2 separate regions of the Homo sapiens genome follow, and region 1 is linked to region 2. The links are contacts of gene promoters, found by promoter capture Hi-C in blood cells and fetal thymus (Javierre and others, 2016). All regions are on one chromosome and are shown on one strand. The core of a region is centred on a gene start or on the middle of the fragment in contact, and the rest is flanking DNA. Distances in the headings are between cores, read along the strand shown. Region 1 overlaps SLC9A9 (solute carrier family 9 member A9). Region 2 holds the start of SLC9A9-AS1 (SLC9A9 antisense RNA 1).

Evidence for each region. Contacts are between HindIII fragments. The CHiCAGO score rates a contact against its expected background, and 5 or more counts as called.
Region 1: a contact is called between a fragment that was not itself captured here and the fragment with the promoter of SLC9A9-AS1 in region 2, in 2 of 17 cell types (M1 macrophages and M0 macrophages). The highest score is 5.3, in M1 macrophages.

Annotation. Positions count from the first base shown.
Region 1 is chr3:143,522,871-143,527,132 of GRCh38, reverse strand. The region is part of intron 9 of SLC9A9 (solute carrier family 9 member A9); the gene reads left to right. Among named protein-coding and RNA genes, the nearest start is that of SLC9A9-AS1, 180 kb to the right of the region's middle. The HindIII fragment of the contact is 812 bases long and covers 1,021-1,832 here.
Region 2 is chr3:143,339,118-143,344,034 of GRCh38, reverse strand. SLC9A9-AS1 (SLC9A9 antisense RNA 1) reads right to left here and starts at 1,789. Exons shown (of 4, transcript NR_048544.1): 1 at 1,751-1,789; 2 at 421-685. The region is part of intron 14 of SLC9A9 (solute carrier family 9 member A9); the gene reads left to right. The HindIII fragment of the contact is 6,948 bases long and covers 1-4,917 here.

The DNA.
Region 1 (4,262 bases), core at 177-2,676, 180 kb before region 2:
TATCATCTCATCACTATTCTCTATAGGCTTGTGGATTAGACAAGTCGTATATGTCTAAAACTGCATAGAGGGTGTTTCAGAACTAGAGATGTAAAAAACTTACTTTAAAATAAGAATAGAGCTCTCCAGTAAACCTAATCATTCTCACAGGGCAGATCGGCTTTAAACGAATGTCACACTTATCTATATATAGTCCACAGTTCCCCAGGGGTGCCCAAGCCCCTTACCCCACAAGAAGCTTGATATATATTTCAACACACAGAATAACATATACTTTGCCCTAAGACTTCCTTTTATGCTTGCTAACTTCAGGATCCTCACAATGGCTGCAAACTCCTAATATTTCAAAGACTGTCTACATTAATATCTTTCAAAGCCTCAAACCCTGGCAAGGAACAAAAATTGTTTTTGAATCGGCTTCAAGAATTAATATTAGAGAATAGGAGGTTTTTCCTCTCAGCAAATTGAAGTTGAATAAATTGTTCTCTGTCTCCTTAAAATGGAATTGGTTGCTCGAGGTGAGCTCTGCTGTGAGGAGGCAGGATGCAGCAGCACTGTGAAGGATGATGGCAGGGACAATTTGGGGGACAGGAGGGGGCCTTTCTTCTCTTAAATTAGGGGCAGGTCTGTTTCTTTAAACCTGGCATAGATGCTAAAATGTAGGAAGTAAGTATATTAGCTTGGAGTTGCATTAAAAATAGCTGGAATTGCTGGGCTATTACCACCTCTTTTCTTGTGTTACCAAATGCCCACAGAGCAGCCTGCCCCTAAGCATTCCTGGGCAGCCATTCATGTCCTCATGGCTGTGACACACATGAATTGAAACTTCCATGTGCAGAGACGCAGATGGCTCCCTTCTTTGGAAGGAGAAAACAAACCCTCCAGACTTCCTTTTGGTGCTTCTAGGCATCTGCTTTGCCCACTATCTTCCCCAAACAAGAAGATGTGACTGTGGTTTGAGGGTTTAGCTTCCCCTGTGGATTTAAAAGACCTAGACATCACAGCCACTGGCCAAAAGCTTTCAATGATGGCTTTGATTTAGTTATATCTTTCTGTTTATAAAAATGACTTTACTGCATAGTATATTCATAGATGTAAAACAGAGTAATAAGACTCAAGGACAATTCTGTTGCCTAAAGGCAACCACTGTAACTGCTAATATTTTGACATTTTTTTCCTTCCAGTCTTTTGTAGCTATTTCATTTATCAAGAATAAACTGTATATGTACAATTTTGTATCCTGCACTGTCTGCTTGACAGTTATAACTAAGAATTTCCCCATTAATTTTAATTTCTCTTTTTTCTTTTGTCATTATTGGTCAAATAAATGTAACTAGATATCATTTACTTTTCTTCTCTCACAGCCTGTGGATTTTGATTATTTCATTCTTTCCTGTTTACGCATACATTTAAATCAGATTCCACAAAAACTCACTGACATTATCTAAGTGAAGGGGCATGTTTGAAAGGGACAACATGTTCCTTGGTACTCACAGACTCAGAAATATGCTGCAAGGTTGTGATGACATTTGAATGCTATTTCCAGAGTAAATGATGAAATACTTCCCCAGGAGACACATGGAGCGAAGGGCAGCTTGTGGGATGATTGGGAAGATGAGACTCATATGCTACCTCCACTTTCTAGAGAAAGTATCAGTCACTAGGCTGACAGAGCCAGATTAGAGTCTACACTTGCCACTTAGTTGCTGTGTGATCTTGAATATGTCACTTAACTTTCCTAAGCCACAGAGGCTTCATCTACAAAATGGATCAGATAGAATCTACCTCACACAGGGATATCATTTGGCATATAATCAATGCTTACAGAAGCTTTGTCCTCACTGTTCACAATGAGGTCTTTTCATAGTTGATCTGTATTAATTTAAATGATAATTTATTTTAAAAAGAGAAATAACATTTAACATAAGTCTAAAAAAGATAAGAACTAGTTCTTAAATTAACTTCATCCTCCTTTGGTTAGCATTTTTTACATAGGTAACCCATATTTTGCCTAGGCTCGCTATTTCTTTTGACATCTATATAGCATTCAATATGTTTTGTTCATTGTCTTAGTCTATTTTTCATTGCAATAACAGAATACTTGAGACTGAATAATTTATAAGGGAAAGACTTTTTTAGCTCATGATTCTAGAGGCTGGGAGGGCCAAGATCAGGCAGTCATCTTTGGCTAGCTTCTGATGTGGGCTTCATGCTATGGCATCGTAACATGGCAGAAAAGCAGAAGGAGAAATAGACATGTACAAAGAAGCAAAACAGGAGAGGCAGGCTCACTTTATTACAACGTATTCTCATGAGAACTAACCCAATCTTGAAAAATAGACATTAATCCATTTTAATCACTTCGTAAAGTCACTACCTTTCAACACTGTCTCACTGGGAACCAAGTCTCAACATAAGTTTTAGTGGGGACAAACCATATTCAAATCATAGCTTCATCTTGATAGAGATGTATACTCTTAAGAAATCTAACTAAACAAATTAGTCATAATGATAGGGGCTCTGGAAAGTCTGAATGATTTAGTGTAGATTAAATTATAGGGCCTTATTTCAAAAAAATATGCATAAGCTGATTTTAGTACTGTCAAACATTTTCAAAATGGCCATTGACCTATAAAAAAGAAAATGTAGTCACGGCACGATCTTCTCTGTTTATTAAAGCTGATCTGTTTCTCTCTCTGCATATTCTCTATTCTCATCTCTCCCTGGCCATATTCACTGACCATCTTGCCCTCAGCTTGACAGAGACAACTGAGGCCATCAGTTGGATAAGAAGTCTATTAATCTTGATCTCCCATCTCAGTTCAGCCTCTATCCCTCTCCTCTTCTATCTCAGCAGGGTCTTGGATCTCAGTGAGTTGGGTCATCCTTTCCATCCCCCACCCCCATATTTGTTTCTTCAGGCTGTTAGATCTCTCTTAGTTTTTTTTTTTTCTATCTTCAGTGTAGCATTTTTCATTGTAGATAATAGGAGCATTCTTCAAAACCCCTCTCTTCACTTGGTTTCTCTGAAACACCCAGCCCTTTCTTGATCTTCCTTCTACATTCTGGTCTTCCTTTCTCAGTCTTCTATCTGACCTGCTAAGGCATTAAAGTCTACATTCAGAAAGGACCACAGAATCCTGTTCTTTCAGCATGTCAGAAAATAACAGTACCATTAGATATCATTGTTTGACTTAGGTGGAAGAGACATTTATATTCAAATCTTTCTTCGTTTTATATAGCTTATATGGCGGAATTAAAAATAAATATATTTACCATCAGTATTTTATTACATTTTTATTGCTTACTTACCTTAGGTATAGAGAATATTCACAATGTTGTCATGATTTATTGTCTTCCAACAATTATTAATTGGGAATCCCTATGGGCTGGACATTAAGAGGATTATGGAAAAATATAATGATAATGATTACCCTTCATCGATCCTTTCATGTTTGCCAGAAAGGGAAGTATATAACAAGTTTGCACAGTAGGTATTAAATTCTCCAATTTTACATAAAATGACGTTGGGACTTCAAGTTCACAAGTTCACACAGCATGCAACCGAAGAGCTGGGATTCACGCTGTGTCTTCCCACCTCAACACTTTCTTTATATGACTTAACACTAAGTATAAGAGATCTTAACAGGTACAAGTTATGAGGAGGAGTGATTACTATGATTAGCTTGGAGTTTTGATAAAACTAATTATATAATTGTTTTTACTTATTGATTTTTTCTGAAATTAACAAAAATATGAAGTTCTTCAGGGTCTTGGAGTATTGTAAAAGACAAAAAGCTATTTCTATACAGATTTTTCATTTCAATGTACAAGTTGATTTCTTCCTGCCTTATAAAATCATACACTTTGAAAGCAAAGCTAAGCATTGTTTTGTAAAAATAATAACAATAATAATAATTCATTCGAAAAAGTTCAATGCTGGCCTTTTGTTAGTCACTCCCAAGACAAATGGACTAGGAATTTTTATATGATTCTGGAGGTGCTAAAGCTCTCTCTCCCTGACAGCTCATTAATTATTGACATTTTCTCTTTTTCTCCCCATGGGATTCTGGGACTGGAAGAGACCCTGTTATATAGTCCCCATATGAAAATAAGCAATGACCTGGGACCCAAATGAAATCACGAAGGCCTAATGAGAATCAGGAGGTGCATGTAATGGGAGGCAGGCAGTGGGCCTAATGAGATACTTAGCAGACCCTGTCTCTTCTTTCTATTAACCTTTCTCTCTTTTTCAGGGTAAT
Region 2 (4,917 bases), core at 540-3,039:
ATGATTCTTCTCCCTGCTGTTTCCTTTGTAAATAATATTTTATTTAAATAATTGCCAGCCCAAAAGATAGAATCATAATTATTCTGGGAGTTACATGGATTTGATAGGTAAACCACTATTTCAGCCATAACTTGCAAGCTGGTTAGACCATTGATCACTATACCTGGGTGTTAGTTTAGATAGAATATTGCTGAGGTAGTCAGCTCAGTACATTGTTGAGGTCTCAAGAGCACAAAGACTCCTTGTTGGGAAACTCCTGAGACCTAGAACCATGTTTCCAAGGCAGCAGTACTAGGTAAATATTCTAGGTGTATATTCTCTGTCATTTTTAATGTATGAATAGCAGACTAAAAGTGCTGCTTTTTATACCTAACCAGGAATCATCTTTGACACCATCTGAAGAATCAGTGGTAGACTCACCATCTTCAGAGTCCTTCAGCTTCCACTAGACCATTTAATTCATTTTGAGGGGACAAAATAGGGACTCCTGCAGTTTTCTCTCTGTAGTATTTTCTTGCTGAATCCAAGACCACATTAGGAAACCATGCCGTTGATTTTTTCGACTACTGCTTGTGGCAGTTCTTGCCTAGCTGTTGAAAGTTACTTTTTTTCCCCTCTTTACATCTTGGTAGAACATCTTATTCTGAAAATTGACTATCTCTCATCCTCCATTCCCACGCTTTGCCTAGAAAATGAAAAGATGTTTAAAAGAATGCCCTCCTGTTCTTGCCACTACAAAAAAATCAAAACATTTCCTGTCATACACTCACACACAATTAGTCTCCTTAACAATAAAGAGGAAAAGAAGTGGGAAAAAAATATCCATGACCTCTGTTGGTATTAAGTCTATAGGATACACTCAGCAGAGTCAAACCATCTAGCACAATCAAAACCATTATCTCCTCCTCTGGGTGTCTAAACTGCCCATATCAGTCATTTCAGTGAATAAAGAAATAAACAAACACTAGAAAATAGGATAGTTGTAGATTTGAGAAACAGTAAAAGTGTGGTGCTATGTATAGCAATGATATCACTTGTATTATTACAGTCATTTTTATATTACTAGCATTTGGGGATTATATCATCTAGCATTTGAGGTTGTTTTGACAATTTGTTCACATATAGATAAGAAAGAAGGAATGATCTTTTCAAAGAGAGATGCATGGTTAAAAGCGTGGCGCGTGTATATTTGCATGCACATGCACCTGCACCTGAGGTTGAACATGCACCAGATACACCATACCCCACCTGAGTGATTAAATAGATCACTCAATAGGAATTTTTCAGGTCATTTTCAGTTTTCTCAGTCTTTTGAAATAAGGTGATATTTTATGGTGCCCACAGTGGTTTGTGTCTACAAGCATTGCCTAATTTTAAAACCTTAAGTTAATCTTGACAAATCTGGCTATTGGAAGCTGTTTGGCCTTGAAGGTTATTTTATTTGTGAGTCCTGCTCTAGTTGCTACATAGATGGTGGCATTGGGTGGGGTGTTTAAAATCTAAGATAGTCCAATAAATAAACTGAAATACATCAGCAATAAGGTTTATAAGTGACCTCATGAGGAATCATCTAGCTTCTTAGATCAGGGTCTGCTGGTCATAAGGGTGGATCACTTGAGGTCAGCAGTTCAAGATCAGCCTGGCCAATATGGCAAAACCCTGTCTCTACTAAAAATACAAAAATTAGCTCGGTATGGTAGCACATGCCTTGTAATCCTAGCTACTTAGAAGGCTGAGGTAGGAGAATCACCTGAATCCAGGAAGCAGAGGTTGTAGTGAGCCAAGATGGTGCCACTGCACTCCAGCCTGGGTGACAGAGTTAGACACTGTCTCAAAAAAAAATAAGAAGCTCTAATGTTTGTTTCATTGAGAGATCCCTTCCTAAGGGACCCAACAAGCAGCTTCAATGATGGTCAGTAAAGTATGAACCTTATAACCATAGTTTCCACGTTTCCACCTTTGCCTCCTACTGAGGCGGCAGCAGAGCTGGGTCCTGACTGTGATGCGGTATTCCCATAACACAGCTCCACATCCAGAGGTAGTTTCACCCGGAATCAATGAAACTCAGCTTTCAGGGCTCTTCATCTGCATGGGTCCTTTGTAAGGGACCAGTGTTGATATTCAAAAGTGTGCATTCTTTTTATTAAGAATAGCCTCCAAAATTAGGTAACCTTCAGACTTCATGAAATCTGGATCTATCCCCGTCCATGTGAGTAAACACTACAGGGAAAATATGATAAATTAACGGTCTTATCATAATATTAAGTATTACAATAAATTATATGATTGTAAAAAATTTCAGTCCCTAGCACCTATATAACACTGTGTTCTGTATTTGCATATCGGAGTCATTTTGGTAAACAAAATTTTAATTTATTTGAACAGGGTTCGGGAAATCCTCAGGAAGTTTAACTTGCAATTTGGTATCTGAAGCTAATGTTATTCCTCTCCACATTTCTCCTCAAACATTTGGCACAGCTTTTCCTACCGTGGCAAGCAACTTGTCCCATTCTGAAAAGTGTGTTAAATTCACAGATACCCAATAATGATTATTGCAGGGTGTTCTCCAACACGTTTCATCCCTTGGTCTAAATTTACATTGTATGACTATGACCTGGGATGACTCTCTTGCCCTCCCTTGTAACTCAATACAGTTATGAATGGATGATTATTTTTATAAAATCCTACTCTGGAGTTCCCAAATTGACAGGCATTGGAGGCTCCCAAACCGACCCCATCTCAGGTATATATTCTCAAGACCAAAAGTTTATGAAAGCTAAGCCCCCTTAAGCCCCCACTACTCCAAAGGAACTGCAAAACAGCACATGAACAGTGAAAAAGATCCTAAAGAAATTCACCTCCCGATCACACCAAATTAATGCTATCCTGAGATACATCCAGCGAAAGGAATTCATCATATTCCACATAAGTGCCAAAAGACATTTGGACAGACTTTCAGCCTAAAGGATAGTGAGAGGGATAGTCTTAAAAATTTTAAAGATTTCTTTAGAACTTTCTTAGAATTAAGTGTCCTATTCAGCTTAATTGTTCTGCTACCAGCAAAAGTGATAAAGTTCAGGTGATCCTAAATGCAGAAAATATGTGGAAGTGAATAAAGCCTTCTGCACTAATGACTAGCAAATTTCAATAGATTTCCAATCTCTCTTTTTCACATTTCTTGTACCAACTCATTTATATTGTCATTCTAGAAAGAGCACATAAAAGGGTGTCTGGAGATAGATTTCTGGATGTTAAGAGAATCTTTAGTGAGTGGAGATAAGACCTGACCAGGAGACCTTTTATGAGTATATTCAGAAATGTAAACTGATGAATATGGTAAGGGCAAAAACTCAATATGATTGCATCTAAGATAGGATAAGGAGTTAATGCCCCTTTCCAAGAGAAATCTTGAAGACGGTACCAAAGTGAGCCCCAGGAAAGATCTGAACTGAAACCTCTCTAAGAGTCTCTTCAAAGCCTCCACTAGCTATAGAGTGGTTGCAATGGAGAATGATCTTGTTTTCCATTAAGAAATTCCAACTACTCATTAGTACCTGTTTTATTTTTCCCACTATAGCCTCCAGGCCTACCACTGTGCCTGGCACAAAGCAGGTGTTCTAATAAATGTCTAGTTAATGTTGAATCAGCAGGTAATCAAAATAGTCCTTCAGTTAAATGATAGTAAAATCCCGAATGTATTCCTGTGAGAGACTTGCCTTATTTCAGGCTGGTGTTGAGCATTGTCTTTTGACCTCTGCCTACTGTTTTATTTATTTATTTATTTGCTTTTCCTTTAACTTCTGTGGTCTGGTGAGGTTGTGCACAGAATCTGGAACCTAAGACTGTATTAGGCCAGTCAGTCATGAAATTATAGTTTGTTGGCTGACAACAAAGCACAGGGTGCTCAGGAGATGAAGCGTGGTATAATAGTACTGAGGGCTTCTAACATCAGTTTAATCAACCGTGATTCCAAGTCACTTATTATTGTGTTTACAATGTCACGATGCAAAAAGTTCTCGTGTTGTGTTCTCAGTGCTTTTGAGATTTCTCCTATGCATTAGTCTTTGACTTGGTTGCTTTTTTTATGTCAGTTAATACCTTTTGGAAGCCATAATTGTACATAGCACACCCCATCATTCGGGCAGTAGCATCCTTTTACAGAAGGAGTTGTCACTCCCAGAGTTGTATTAATAATTATTTTGAAAAACAGTGAATTGAGCAACAGTTGTTAACATGAACCTAATGATCAGAACTGAATACAACCAAGCTCAGCTTTGGAACAGGAAAAGAAACTATCAGAGTAGACGTGATTATTGAGTATTCCAGAGTATAGCTCTCAACAGTCTGCTCTTTTAGTCATTAACTATTGTTCACCAGCTACTGCAACATTTTTAAATGATGTGGCAATACAATGTGACGGGAAGCCTTAAGAACATCAGGGAAAAGAATCTGAAGAGTAATTTATTTATGTTAAGGAACAACATAGTATGCCAGTGTAGAAGGGGGGGAATGTAACATAAAGAAGATAGCAGGGAAAAGGAATGCTATCTACTGCATAAGAAATGAGCAGCCTGGGATTCAAGCAGAGAAAATCCTCAACCAAGGCTTGAGCTGGGTAGGTAAGCAAGAGAGCCGGAAGCTGCATTTCTTCCTCCAGCCACTCACCTCATATGCAGCTGTGCAAATTGCAATTAATTATGAAAGAAAAAGATGACAGACATTACATACTAGTAGGGAGGGAGGCTCAGGGGCCCTGTCCAAGGGGCCATGCGATGAACCTCCACACCAGGAGGAAGCTCTAATGAGAATATTGTGAGATAGAGCAAAGCAGAATTCCAGGAGACTCACAAATAATTATTGATGTTGATTGCCACCATTGGTGGCAGGTGGTGGCACAAAGAAACCAAAATTCCATCC